Linked DNA regions of Homo sapiens: regions 2 and 3 are each linked to region 1. Evidence: promoter capture Hi-C in human tissues and cell types (Jung and others, 2019). All regions are on one chromosome and are shown on one strand. Each heading gives the region's core, a stretch centred on a gene start or on the middle of the fragment in contact. The rest is flanking DNA. Distances are from core to core; before and after follow the strand shown. Region 1 holds the start of OR8B4 (olfactory receptor family 8 subfamily B member 4). Region 2 has its middle 18 kb from the start of OR8B2. Region 3 has its middle 33 kb from the start of OR8B8.

Region 1 (5,026 bases), core at 929-3,428:
CACCCCTGTCAGAACCAGACATTGCCAGCAACCCTAAAGCACCCTTCACATCCTTCTCCAGTCACTAGCCCCTGCCTGCCCAGCCAAGAGGAACTGCTGTGTGACTTCTAGCACCATAGATTAGCTTCCTTGTTTCTAAACTGTATGTAAATGAAATCATAAAATATACCCTCTTCTGTGCTTGGCTCCTTTCACTCTCTGTTGGTTTGTGACATTTATCTATGTCATTATCTTTCATGGCTATATGGAATTCTATTTTATTAACATCCTACCATTTATTATCCGGTCTACAGTTGGCTGACAGATGGGGTGATTTCAGTTTGTGGCTGTTAAGGACAACGCTGCAGTGCACAATCTTGGCATGTCTTTAGGTAAATATGCCTACTTACTTTTAGTTAGTATACACAATTTGTTGTCCAAGTCCAGACACTTCTGAGAGTGAAAGGGTATGCTATTAATAATTATACAGAGATAATGAGTGTAAGTCAGGACTGTCCCAGGCGAACTGGGATTATTTTAGGTAGCCTTAGTGAAACTTACAAATGCAGATGCTCCCATGTCTTTGAATTTTTCTTAAAATATTCATCTAGCAGATCATATGGAGAGCAGCTTTGTCATCTGAATAATGGCAGGATTAGACCCTTACATCCATCTCCCATTATACCTTAAGCCTGCATGCCTAGAGAGTAACTCTGTGTAGGGGTGTGTGTGTGTGTGTGTGTGTGTGTGTGTGTGTGTGTGTGTGCTTTCTAGCATATGTGTTGTGATATTTTAATCTCTTCATATATAGTAAAGGCCTGTCTGCGGCCCTTATTAGAGCTGCGAGTAGGTGGTGTTTGTGGTGGAGGTGGTGTGGTTTCTGTTCTGAGCAGCGCATGGTCCAAGAAGCCTTTTATCTGAGGTGCTCTCTGTAGATCTGATCTGACCTTTTCTGAGGGGTCCTACTCTCATAGCTCCCTGTGAAGATTTGGAGATGGTGGCTTAGGTTGGGGCTATTCACTCTTAAATTCAAGCTTAGGCTCTGAGAGTTAATGAGAAAGGAAAAAATGAGTCCCCAAACTCAGCACTGAATAACATGAAATCCCTGGAGTAGAGGGAAAGTTTGAGTGGAACCCCCACTCCCAAGATGCTAGGTAAGCACCGTTATCCAGGCTGTAAACAAAGACAGTGCAATTCCTTCCCTATAGAGACAGATCTTGGAGAAATTCCCAGGGGAAACTGTGTCTAATCAGGTCCCTGAGATCGTCAAGCAGCTTAAATTCCTCTGTGATATGACAGCTGGGGTTCTGGTCAAAATGAGAGTTCCTAGTTTTTTTTCCTGAAGTTGTCAAGACCACCTGGGAAAATCCACAAACAGAAACCATGGTCTATTCCTTGAGCACCTTGGAGCCTGGGGTCTGTAAAAGCTCTGATTCTCAGCACCAAGGGAGTCAAAAGAGGTAATACGCAAGGCTGTGTGCTTTCTGCACAAGCAGCACCATTTTCTCTTTCTGGCTAATGGAAAAAGAGATGGCGTAAGGCCCAGCACTGAGTGGGGCCCGGGAGAAGGAAGGTGAAGGTCCGAATCCTGTCTTTCCTGATGGTCTCTTTGAAACCCACAACCAAGGGCTCTGGGAAGTATGGATCCCGTCTCTGCTCTCAACACTGACCCTGAGGTGAGATGGAATGGAGGGTCTTCGAGGAGGCGGGTGGGATGTAAAGAGCCAGCAGGTAACACTCTTGGCTTTCTCTCCAGATGGAAATCCACTATCTAGTTGGGAGACGGAGGCAGAGAATGGGAGGGCATCCTGGTGACCTTGAGAGCTCTGGTCTCTCAGCTCTTGAGGCAGCGGCCCAGGTTGTACTCTTGGTTCTCAGGGTGTCTTTCTGAGAGTCCCTGGGCAGCCAATTCAGGTGTGTTGTCTCCCTCGTCATCTCTCAAGCAGAGACGGAATTCTTGCTGCCCATGGTAACAGATGCTAGCTTGAATTCATGATCGGCCCAGCAGAGCTGAGATCCTCTCACAGACACGTTGTTAATACCTCAGGGTGGGGAGGTGTGTAGATGAGGGAGGATGGAAGAGAGGGCATCTGCACACTGGCTGGTCCACTAGAGTCTTCTTCCCTTAGCCATGCTTGTGCCTGTCATGACTCTTTGTGTTTTGCCCTCTGCTTCCCCAGACAGCTCGCCAAGAGAGAATGACTCTGAGAAACAGCTCCTCAGTGACTGAGTTTATCCTTGTGGGATTATCAGAACAGCCAGAGCTCCAGCTCCCTCTTTTCCTTCTATTCTTAGGGATCTATGTGTTCACTGTGGTGGGCAACTTGGGCTTGATCACCTTAATTGGGATAAATCCTAGCCTTCACACCCCCATGTACTTTTTCCTCTTCAACTTGTCCTTTATAGATCTCTGTTATTCCTGTGTGTTTACCCCCAAAATGCTGAATGACTTTGTTTCAGAAAGTATCATCTCTTATGTGGGATGTATGACTCAGCTATTTTTCTTCTGTTTCTTTGTCAATTCTGAGTGCTATGTGTTGGTATCAATGGCCTATGATCGCTATGTGGCCATCTGCAACCCCCTGCTCTACATGGTCACCATGTCCCCAAGGGTCTGCTTTCTGCTGATGTTTGGTTCCTATGTGGTAGGGTTTGCTGGGGCCATGGCCCACACTGGAAGCATGCTGCGACTGACCTTCTGTGATTCCAACGTCATTGACCATTATCTGTGTGACGTTCTCCCCCTCTTGCAGCTCTCCTGCACCAGCACCCATGTCAGTGAGCTGGTATTTTTCATTGTTGTTGGAGTAATCACCATGCTATCCAGCATAAGCATCGTCATCTCTTACGCTTTGATACTCTCCAACATCCTCTGTATTCCTTCTGCAGAGGGCAGATCCAAAGCCTTTAGCACATGGGGCTCCCACATAATTGCTGTTGCTCTGTTTTTTGGGTCAGGGACATTCACCTACTTAACAACATCTTTTCCTGGCTCTATGAACCATGGCAGATTTGCCTCAGTCTTTTACACCAATGTGGTTCCCATGCTTAACCCTTCGATCTACAGTTTGAGGAATAAGGATGATAAACTTGCCCTGGGCAAAACCCTGAAGAGAGTGCTCTTCTAATGGGTCTCTTCATATCACTGGCAACCGATTCTCGGTAAGCATGATACTCAAGTGTCTTTCTATTTATAGGCGGAGGAATTTTAATATTTTTCCTCAAAGAGGGTCTCCTCTCCACTTTTAAAAATTGGAAATCTCTTTCCTATACTCTCCTTGAGGACTATATTATTTTGCAACAATTAAATTGGCTCACTGCCTGCAAGTTAGTGTCTATGAAATGCCTTTTGTTTACTGAACTCTGTATTAGGCCCAAGAGATGAGTAAGATGAGGCTCCATGCCTTCCATTCTTTTCTTGGTAGGCTAAATGGGTTTTTCTGAGCAAGAACGTTTCTGGCTGGAACAAGGGGCAGGTGGTGGTATAAAGGTTGAGGAGTGTTTTCTCTTTAGTTACATAAGCAGACTTATTAAAGATCAATGGTAGATACCTTGGTGCCAGTGCTAATATGATTATATATCCAGCTCTTCAGGAGGTTGCTTGGTCAGGAAGATCATAAACCCTCCTTTTCATATACATGTATGTACATAAAAGAAGCCCTCACACAAGAATTTTCTATGATCTGCTCTGTAAGGATAAATCAAATCCAAATCTTTTATTTCAAAGTTCTAAAGCTTCTGGGCCTTGGAATGGTAATCAGGGGTAAGTGATCCTGTGTAATTGGGCCAATTTCTTAGGCTCCGGAGACTCAGGCTGGAAGAAGAAACAAGGAAGAACTCCACGGATTTGCATGATCTGTAAAATGTGGCCTCTGCCTTGCTCTGGAGATACTAAGCACACTACTGGATTTTAGGAAGATTGCTTATTCTTTAAAGTGGATTTAGATTTTACAGTTCTGACAACGTGTGTGCATGTTTATATGTGTGTGTGTGTGTGTGTGTGTGTGTCTGTATGTGTATTACAGTTAATCAATATAGAATCGGAAAGAAAGAGGAGTCATATTACACGTCCCACTCTCAGGGAGTCTGGAAGGGATCTGGATTTTGAGTGCCAAAGACCACTCTGTATTACTCTGCTAAAGGTTCTGCTGTTCTACATTGAAGAGTTCAGTGCTCCAGCTCGTGGCCAGGAGACATTCTGAGGGAGAGCTGAGAGCAGGGCAGAGAAGCAACTGCAGCACAGGTCTGACCAACAGGAGACGTGAGACAAACTCTATCTATCTTCTCCAAATCTGCTAGAGGAAGATCTTTGGAGGAGAAAAACTCTGATACTTGGATTATGCTTTGATTATGATAATAATGACACTTAACAGTTACTGAACTTGCACCATGTGTTTGTGCACCATTTGAGGTACCTTAAATATATTAATTCATTCATTGGAATTGATTTAATACCTTACTCAACCACTGCTGGTCAGTCCTCTGGGCCTTGCTGAATCCCACCCTCCAGTGGACTGTCTGTGTCTAGGTCCATGGGGGTCTTGGGATATTAGAAAAGAATCAAGAATAAGGAAGGACAAAAGTAAATCTACTTTGATACGGATAAAGAAAAAAAAACAATTACCATTGGTATAAATGAGCGGGAACAAGAACTAAGTCAGGGCATAGGATATGAATGGAAAGGAACAATTATGTAATCAATGCATCAAAGTCCAAGAATAACTTTCCCTGCATTCACTCCATATTGGCACTGGGGTGAGTAGCCGTGAAAGTATGTTTGACTTAATGAGACACTGGCTTGGCTCTTTTGGAAAGAAGTTCCTTTTTGACTGAGGATCTTACATGACAAAAACTCAGAGAGACTTTTCTTGGCTCTTGTAAAGCCAAATAAGAGCATCTACTGCTTCCACAGAAAATGCAACATTAAATAAATTCAGAAGGCCTGCACTTCTGTCTCAAACCAAGGATGGGTCATCTTGCATATTGTTTTGGGTTGACGTTAAGGAATTGTTTGTTCTCACAGTGTTAAACAAATAGAAGGAGGGTT
Region 2 (5,026 bases), core at 1,417-3,916, 58 kb after region 1:
TACATGGACACAGGAAGGGGAATATCACACTCTGGGGACTGTGGTGGGGTGGGGGGAGGGGGGAGGGATAGCATTGGGAGATATACCTAATGCTAGATGACGAGTTAGTGGGTGCAGCGCACCAGCATGGCACATGTATACATATGTAACTAACTTGCACAATGTGCACATGTACCCTAAAACTTAAAGTATAATAAAAAAAAATAAATAAATAAAATAAAACAATAAAACAAGAGGACCAAGAAAAAAAAAAAGAAATGAGCTCCTATTTTAAAGAGATTCTGTAATTTGAAGCAAATTTTTTTCTAACTGATAATGTGGGTTGAAAGTTACATTTCTTAGAAAGTAAATAAAACATATAATTTTTACAGATGAACATCGTGGAGTACATTCTTAATTGTTTTAGGTAAATATTGAAGAGAAAACACTATAATTTATTATGATGAGAAGGAGAGCTTGTGAAGATTTAAACTTAAATTTTAAATGTAATCTCCCCTGGCTAGTGTTTTTTGTTTTTTTGTACACTCTTACAGACTCTGAAACATAAACATTGTCCAATATCCTTTTTCCCATATTTGTTGAGAAAAATAAGAAATTACACAATATCATATGTGCTCAAAATACTTCAATTAATCAGAATAGTTCTTTCATGGCTTCTCATCAGCTATAATCTGTCTGACTCAATTTCCTTGCTAATTTTAACTGAGACTGAAAATTAGTTTGAAACTTACACTTTTATTATATAGCTTCAATTGTTCAGTGGGTAATGGAGAGCCACTGGAAGTTCTAAAACTAGGGAAGGCAGAGCTGCACTTCCAGAGCTTATTTTAGCAACAGAATAGGTGGCTAAACAAGAGGAACTATGTGGAAAAATGCTAGAATAACAGTTAGAAGCTACTACAATTCAATAGCACAGTTCCGTTAAAACCTACAGAGTGTCTGAACTTGTGAGGTGGCTGAGAGAAAGGCATGGAGGTCATTGTGTTTGTAGCCTCTAAGCATCTGAGAACCATGGAAATTCGATTCTGAAGACTTTCAGCCAGATAACATACTTTTCATAATTTTAAAGAGGGGCTGCTATGTACTCTTCTCCGTACTTAGCATTAGAAGCAAAGTAGTAAACAAGTCTGAAGTGATCTTTGTCTTTACAGAACTTATAGTTTTTAGAGGAAAACAAAAATTCAAGGGGAAAAATCCTGATGGAGAATCTGCCAGAAGTTATGAGAACACAAATAATAATAGTTGACATTTACTGATTATTTGTCATGTGCCAGGGGCTGTTTTTACCATTGCACTTATTTCATTTAATTGCCACCACCCAGTGAATGAGATATTATTATTAGTATCCCTATTTCAGAAACTATAAACCTGAGAAAGTAAAAACCTTCTTTAGAAGTGATGTAAGCCATTCAAAGTTATTTTGGTGATGTCCTAGGAGAGACAATACCTGAAGTGAGTTACTATGGTCCTTCAAAGTTTTTACATAAAAACACGAAGTCTCAAAGTAGACCTTATGGGAAATTTCCGCTCAGCATGAAGGAAGAAAGACAGAAAAAAACCAAAACAATGATTTCCCTTCAGAGATCAAGGTGGTGGGGATGTGGGAGTTTATTTCTGGCTCTGCTTTGCATTATGTAGGAGCCCTAGAGGGAAGGGAAAACTTGAGTAAAAATATTGAATCCCTAAGGAAGTAAAGACAGATCATGATGCAGGGTGTAAATACAGTTCCGTTATTTTCTATTACAGCCAGAATCTGTTCCCTGGGGAGGGGGGCTGAGTAAGCTTCTACCCTTTTTATAACCAAGCACATTATATCATTAAACTAATATTAAATCTACTATGTCTTAGCAAGCGACTAAACGCGTAGTAATCAAGACTTCATTTTTTCTCTACTGCTTGAGGGGAATCAAAGTCATAATCACACATAAAGACATACAAGAAATTAAGTCTGGACTGTATGTTCTTAGAATCAAAGGAACAAATACCTGGACACCCGAAATTACTTTTCCAGAATCACAGGGAAATAAGAAAGTGAAAGAAGCATCAAGGTATTCTGGACTAAGAATGGTGAGTTTCTGAATTCTATTTACATTAGTGTTTTCTTTTATTGAGACGGAAGTCCAGGGATCTAAAATCCACCATTTCCCCTCATTTTGAGCAATCCTGAAACTCAAATGAAATTGGAGAATGTGTTTGAAGGGGGAGCAGAGAATGTTCAGGGACACTAGTAAGCTCAATGGTTGCAGTATTTACTGAGTAAGTTCCCTTTCCATGGACAGAGCCCTCTCTGTCCTAGATTTATAACTTTTTCACTGTGACTTGGGACAGTAATGTAACCTCTCCTAGACTCTGGTCCCCTACTAGTGGATTGGAAACAATGTTTTGGTTTTCACTGCATCCGACTAATTTCATTAGAGGCCAATGTCGGTCGCTTAGGCCTCTGCCTCCAATTTTACTTGTGAGGGGAGGGCTCAAATGAATGAAGAAATGATGAGACGGGAAAAAAACGATTCTGTCCTGGTCCATCCATCTCCCTTATCCCTTATTTCCAGCAGTCATGCTTGTATATGGCAGCACTGGCCTTCACTCTCTAGGGTTAATTGGCGGTGTTCTGTAAAGGCAGATTCTGTGGGTACAGGTTAGGCTAATCTCAGGCAGACCCATTGTGGAAAGAGCTGGGTTGTCCTCTAATGCAACCGTTTGTTTTTTTCCCCTGTTTCCAGAGATTCCCTTAAAGAAGAATGGCACCTGGAAATGGCTCTTTCGTGACTGAATTCATTCTGGCGGGATTAACACATCAGCCAGATCTCCAGTCCCCTCTGTTCTTCCTGTTTCTAGTAATCTATGTGGTCACTCTGTTGGGAAACTTGGGCTTGGTAACTCTAATTGGGCTGAACTCACACCTTCATACCCCCATGTACTTCTTCCTCTTTAACTTGTCCTTCATAGATCTCTGTTATTCTTCTGTGTTTACACCCAAAATGCTAATGAACTTTATTTCAGAGAAGAATATTATCTCCTTCAAGGGGTGCATGACCCAACTTTTCTTTTTCTGTTTTTTTTGGTCATTTCTGAATGTTATGTGCTGACGTCAATGGCGTATGATCGCTGTGGCCATCTGTAACCCACTTCTGTATCACATTGCCATGTCTCCTACAGTGTGCTCCAGCCTTATGTTTGGTTCCTATTTGATGGCCTTTTCTGGTGCCATGGCCCACACTGGATGCATGCTGAGACTGACTTTCTGTGATGCGAACACCATCGATCACTACTTCTGTGACATCCTCCCTCTGCTCCAGCTCTCCTGCACCAGCACCTACATCAATGAGCTGGTGGTTTTCACTGTGGTTGGCATCAACATCATTGTGCCCACTGTTACCATCTTTATCTCTTATGGTTTCATCCTCTCCAGCATCCTCCATATCAGTTCCAAGGAGGGCAGGTCCAAAGCTTTCAGCACTTGCAGTTCCCATATAATTGCTGTTTCTCTGTTCTTTGGATCAGGTGCATTTATGTATCTCAACCCATCTTCTGCTGGGTCCATGGATAAGAGAAAATTATCTTCTGTCTTTTATACAAATGTGGTTCCCATGTTGAACCCCTTAATCTACAGCCTGAGGAACAAAGATGTTAAATTTGCCCTAAGAAAAGCCCTGAGTAGTAGGAAACTTTGATAAGTAATAGTATGTGTCTGTGTGTATAGTCACAAGACAGGGATATTCTGTTTGTTTAATTATAATATTATAGTAGCAGCCTTCTTATCCTATTTCTTTTTACCATGGTAAAAAAAACTGAGTCTTCTTTAAATTGATTATAATTTTTCTGGAATAGATTTCTTCTTTTCTCTATAATTTTCACTATTAAAAAAAATCTTTTCACCATGTTTTCAGTTTAGGAATAACATTAAGGAAGAAATTTATTTCTATGTTTTTTCTTTTCCATTATGGACTTCCTTTCTCTTCTGGCGAAAGACGAATTGTTATGCAAAGAATCAGGTAAAGTAGAACTAGGGTGACACTGTGCCACTCACTGGGTGTGGGTTTTCTTTTTAAAAATGTTATTATTGTATTGGTACATAATAGATGTATGTATTTTCAGGGTACATATGAGAATTTAATTCATTGGTGTGGGGTTTCTTATTTTCTACTCATAATATCCCACTGGAAGCTTGAATCAGATAATTTTGTTTTACTTCTGCTTGTACATCATCCAATGGCAGGAATGTGTTCCCTTCAAAAGCCAGTGTCACAGATATAAAAGGCTCCATAATGATCATCCAATATAACCTGTTTTGCAGCTGCATACCATGCATTTACCTTCTTTTGGTAGATATTTCTTATTTACCTTTGTATACCCAAACAGCACAAACTCAATTGCTAATATGTATTTATTGTACGGAGACGATACCGATGCTCAGAGAAGTTAATAACTTACTTAAATTTACAAATTTACAGAGTTTCATAATAAAAAAGTCTAGAATATACTATTTATTCCTAATTTCAAGTCTACTACTCTCTCAAGTATGCTTTTGGTCTACTTCATTTTATTATTTTTATTTCCACAAATATGAGTATGAAAAATATTTCTATTTTAAAATTTGAATGTGCTTTCTCTTTGGATGATACATAAATCTTTCTCCAAGTTGTTGCTGCTTTATCTTTTGTTTAGAAAAACAACTGGATGATTCTTGTTGTTGGGACAGATCTGGCCTTTGAGGCTAGGATAGTTGGAAGATGATTGCTTCAACTAGGGAGCTGCATTTTTCTACAACATTAAAAAAAAATTGAGATGATTTCAAGGTCTTGTAATTCAGAGAACAGGATCAGGGAGAGAAAGGAGCCCAGCAACATGACATTTAGGCCAAGACCCAAAGAGGCAAATGGCAATTAAACAAGATTTCCCTTTGTAAGGAACTATCAAAGATGCTTCAGATACCACACTGCAATCTGAATTTGTATCTTTCCTGTAGAGCACTGTAATTGTTGTACACTGTTCATTAAATCTTTGATAAAATTTACCATCTGCA
Region 3 (5,026 bases), core at 865-3,364, 54 kb before region 1:
GCTCTTACATAAATTTGCTGGTGGTTTTTATTATTGTGACCGTTGGCATTGGGGTGCCGATTGTCACCATTTTTCTCTCTTATGGTTTTATTCTTTCCAGCATTCTCCACATTAGTTCCACAGAGGGCAGGTCTAAAGCCTTCAGTACCTGCAGTTCCCACATAATTGTGGTATCGCTTTTCTTTGGGTCAGGTGCTTTCATGTACCTCAAACCACCTTCTATTCTACCCCTGGACCAGGGGAAAGTGTCCTCCATTTTTTGTACTGCTGTGGTGCCCATGTTTAACCCATTAATCTACAGCCTGAGGAATAAAGATGTCAAAGTTGCCCTGAGGAGAACCTTTTGCAGAAAATTAGTCTCTTAAAAATGAATGAGAAAGGGAATCCAAACCTTTGTTAATCAGGGGGTTTCTTTTCTTTTTTTCAGTGAGGGAACAAATGCCACTGCTTTCTCTCCTATACTTAGAGAAAAATTTTAAATGTATTCTTAAGTGCACTTACACCCTGCACTGCTTATCCACACCAACTATTCCAATTGTTATTTTATGAGAATAGTTTCTACTGTTATACAGGGTTTAATCTTGAATAGGCTTATGAAATCATTTACTCCAGTCTCCTCATGCAATACATCACACTCAAAAATATTTTGTAGGCTGCCAAAGGACACACATGTACCTGATGCCAGAGCTGAAACTAGAGTCCAGGCTCTTGAATTTTAATACAATCTGCTGTGTTTTTCTTCAGCTACACTTCCTTGTTCCATCGTTTCCCTGACTGATTTCATTTAAAATTTTTTTTTTTGCATTTAAAGATATCTAATTATATTCATAGTGATGTCATGCAACTTTTCAAAGGTTAATTTTTGGAATAACATTTTTGCAAGAGTGTTGGAAGTGAAAAATGTGGTTGATGTGGTCTTGACAAAAAGATAAGAGAAAATTTTAAAGAATTTTGGGGTGTGTGAGTGAGAAGTAGATTAGGTTCCTTATAGAATCAAGGATGGTGCCCATGGAGATGGTATAGAGCCTTGAGTGAAGGCTTACAATAGAAGGCCTTCTAAGGGAGAGATAAACAGAGTTGAGGGAGTTAAATTTGTTAGATACAAGCTTTATTCTTCATCTGAAGATTAACGGAGACAGAATTTGGAGCCTCACCTCAAAGGTCTGAATAATGTAAATTAGTAATAGACAGCTCTGGATAAGTGAGCCATTAGAACCACGGCAGCCAACTAGTTGTTAGGGGAGGCAATTGCCATTATATAGTTAAGACATTGCATATATCTGTGACCTTCTATTAATAACAATAGGGCATAAAGGGAAGGGACGGTGGTCTTAGGAGAGGTCATATATTCACAGCATTGGGTAAGTGGAAGTACAACTTTGTATAACGAATGAGAGTAATTTTTTTGATCTGAATACATTAGTAATGGTAACAATTATTTCAGAAGTCATGGCATATGAACTGTCTGGAAGATAGTTTAATTTACAAACTTTGAAAAGTTATCTTCTATTAGAAAAAGGGGAAGTTCGGATTAATGTTTAGCTTTCTTCCTTTGGAATCTTTTGGTTTAACGAGGATAGAATTCAGGAAATGAAAGTGTAGGGGAGGGTTGTGTTTTGATGCTAAGGGAGATGAATGATGATGAAATTCAAGACACATGGATTGAGGGTGCACTGGGAATGGTGGAGAATCAGTACAATGAAAACACCCTACTCCTTCTTAAATTGAAATATAAATTTTACAGTGAAGTGCACAAACATTAACTGCTCGATGATTTTTTTTCACATTTATAAGGCTATGATTACTTACCTCCACCCAAATGAAAATATAGCAGATTTTTTATCATTTCAGGGTACTCCTGCCTGCCCTTTCCCAGTAATTACTACTCCCCATGCTCTTCCTGGAAATATTCACTATTCTTACTTTATCATCACAGTTTCATTTTTCTCGTGCTTGAACTTCATATAAATGTTAAATAGTGCATTTACTTTCTTACGTTTCACTTAACATAGAGAGTCATGTGAGATTCATCCATAACAGTTTTCTTGGTTATTGCTGTTTATTTTAGTATTCCATTGTAAGAATGTAGAGCAATTTGCTTATCAATATCTTCTTTATGGACATTTGCCTTGTTTTCAATTTCTACATGTTATTAATAAAGCTGTTATAAACATTCCTTTTTTTTTTTTTTTGAGACATAGTCTCGCACTGTTGCCCAGGCTGGAGTGCAATGGCACGATCTCGGCTCACTGCAACCTCCACTTCCCGGGTTCAAATCATTCTCCTGCCTCAGCCTCCAAAGTAGGTGGGATTACAGGCACCCACCACCACACACAGCCAATTTGTGTATTTTTAGTAGAGACAGGGTTTCACCATGTTGCCCAGGCTGGCCTCCAACTTCTGACCTCGTGATCTGTCTGCTTCGGCCTCCCAAAGTGCTGGGATTACAGGCATAAGCCACCATGCCTGGCCTATAAACATTCTTGAACATGTATTTTGCTGGAAATATACACTTATTTTTGTTTGGGTATATACCTAGATGTAGATTTTATGGGTCACAAGGTAGGCATATGTTTAGGCTTCTAAATGCTATCAAATTGTCTTCCAAAATATTTAAACTGATTTGCACTCCCATCAATAAATTCCAGAAAAGGATACTCTTCATCCTTATTTTCAGTATTTTTCATTTTAATTACTCCGTTGGGTGTGTAGTACAGTATTGCTTTAGTCTTTTAGATATTTCCCTGATAAATAATGATTTTTTTTTTTTTGACGGAGTCTTGCTCTGTCGCCTAGGCTGGAGTGCAGTGGCATGATCTCGGCTCACAGCAACCTTCACCTTCCAGGTTCAAGCAATTCTCCTGCCTTAGCCTCCCGAGTAGCTGGGGTAACAGGAGCCTGCCACCACACCTGGCTAATTTTTGTAGTTTTACTAGAGACGGGGTTTCACTATGTTGGCCAGGCTGGCCTCGAACTCCTGACCTTTTCTTAACAGACAAAGTCTTGCTCTGTTGTCAGGCTGGAGTGCGATGGTGTGATCATGGCTCACTGGAGCTTTGAACTCCTGGGCTCAAGCTATCTTCCTGTCTCAGCCTGCTGAGCAACTGGAACTATAGGTACATGCCACCACACCTGGCCACTTTTTCTATTTTTTGTAGAGATGAGGTCTCACTATGTTACCCAGGCTGTTACCAAATACCTGGGCTCAAGTGATCCTCTCATCTTGGCCTCCCAAAGTGTTGGGATTACAGGTGTGAGCCACCACACCCAGCCTTGTTGGGCACTTTTTATATGTTCATTAGCTATTTGGACATCACCATTTGTGAAGTGCCTGTTCAAGTCATTTGGCTACTTAAAAATAGTGTTGTTGCTGGGCACGGTGGCTCACACCTGTAATCCCAGCACTTTGGGAGGCCAAGATAGGCGGATCAAGAGGTCAGGAGATCGAGACCATCCTGGCTAATATGATGAAACCCCGTCTCTACTAAAAATACAAAAAAATTAGCCTGGTGTGGTGGTGGGCACCTGTAGTCCCAGCTACTTGGGAGGCTGAGGCAGGAGAATGGCATGAACCCAGAAGGCGGAGGTTGCAGTGAGCCGAGATCGCGCCACTGCACTCCAGCCTGGGCGACAGAGTGAGACTCCATCTCAAAAAAAAAAAAAAAAAGTGTTGTTATTCTTTTTTCTTATTGATTAGTTTTTTAAAACGTATAATCTGGATATGAGTACTTTTTCAGACACACACATTGCAGTTATCTTTACTCAGTCTCTGGCTTGCCCCATGACTACTCATTAATTATGTCCTTTGATAATGATATTTCAATTTCAATTTGAATAAAGTTCATTTGTCCACTTCTTTTACTGTTCATGCTTTCTTCTGTTTAATTTTTTTCCTACTACATAGTCACAAAGTCATTCTCAGGTTTTCCTTTGAAAGCTTCATGATTTTTCCTTTAAAATTTAGATTTTAGATCAATTTTAAATCAGTTATCATGTATGGTGTGCAGTTGTTTTATTTCTTTCATAAAGATATTAAGTTGCATCAGCATCATTTATTGAAAAGACCTTCTCTCCTCCCTGAATTGTATTGGCTATATTTGTACGTGTGTATTTGAAGATCAAGTGACAATAATTTAGTGGGACTAATTTGAGAGAAGTTGACATGGAGCCAAAGTGCTGTATTCTCCCATTACAATGGTGAATAGTAATGAGGAAAACAGACATGCTTTTCTTGTTTCGAAGTGGAATTTCATACCTTTCATACCTTTTACTTTATTTTAAATAACTTTTTAAAATTTAATTTTCAATTATTAGTAGTATGTAGTAGCACAGTTGTTTTTTGTATACTGAATTTGTATCTAGCATCTTTGTTATTTCACTTATGAAATCTAATTGTTAGCTAAACTCGACAAAAGAGAAACTAAGAATTTGTACTTTGTTTTTTCTGTATATACTCATGTAATCTGCAAATAAAGACAGGTTTGATTCTTCCTTAATGGTCTTTATACCTTTTATCTATTTTATTTTTTTCAGTGTCCTGTCTAAGACTTCCAATACAATGATTAATAGAGATGAGAATGGATGACCCTGTCTTGTTTCTGACCTTAGGGTAAAGGCATTAAGGCTTTCACTGTTGAATAAGATGTTTGCTGTAGGATTTGTTTTCTTCTGCAGATGGCAGTAATTAGATTATGGGTGGGTGATTAACAGCTTCCACTTAAGAAGGAATACATTTTTCTTGAGAATACATGTCATGGTAAAAAATTAAACAGTACAAAAAAGTATACAGTAGAAATAAGGTTTCCTTTCACATCAGTTCACCCATGCTTATGTTCTTCCTCCTGGATGCAACTATTCCCAGAAATAGAATAGGTATACACAAGCATATCTCTGTACCTTCTATCTATCTACCTACATATTTATGTATCTAGAGACCCTTTTTTGTTTTGAAATTTAATAAAAGGGGATTTAGGGATGTATCTTCCAATGGAAATGACTTAAAGAGGAGGGAGCATAGGATATTATT

What was found. Contacts are between HindIII fragments. The study calls those that stand out against the background at their distance.
Region 2: a fragment that was not itself captured here is called in contact with the fragment with the promoter of OR8B4 in region 1 in 2 of the 25 tissues and cell types used here (aorta and psoas muscle).
Region 3: a contact is called between a fragment that was not itself captured here and the fragment with the promoter of OR8B4 in region 1, in 1 of the 25 tissues and cell types used here (liver).

Annotation. Positions count from the first base shown.
Region 1 is chr11:124,422,023-124,427,048 of GRCh38, reverse strand. It overlaps OR8B4 (olfactory receptor family 8 subfamily B member 4), which reads left to right and starts at 2,178. Exons shown (of 1, transcript NM_001005196.1): 1 at 2,178-3,107. The coding sequence starts at 2,178. The coding sequence ends at 3,107. The HindIII fragment of the contact is 10,487 bases long and covers 1-5,026 here.
Region 2 is chr11:124,364,267-124,369,292 of GRCh38, reverse strand. It overlaps the pseudogene OR8B1P. Among named protein-coding and RNA genes, the nearest start is that of OR8B2, 18 kb to the left of the region's middle. The HindIII fragment of the contact is 4,114 bases long and covers 610-4,723 here.
Region 3 is chr11:124,476,336-124,481,361 of GRCh38, reverse strand. It overlaps the pseudogene OR8B9P. Among named protein-coding and RNA genes, the nearest start is that of OR8B8, 33 kb to the right of the region's middle. The HindIII fragment of the contact is 5,845 bases long and covers 1-5,026 here.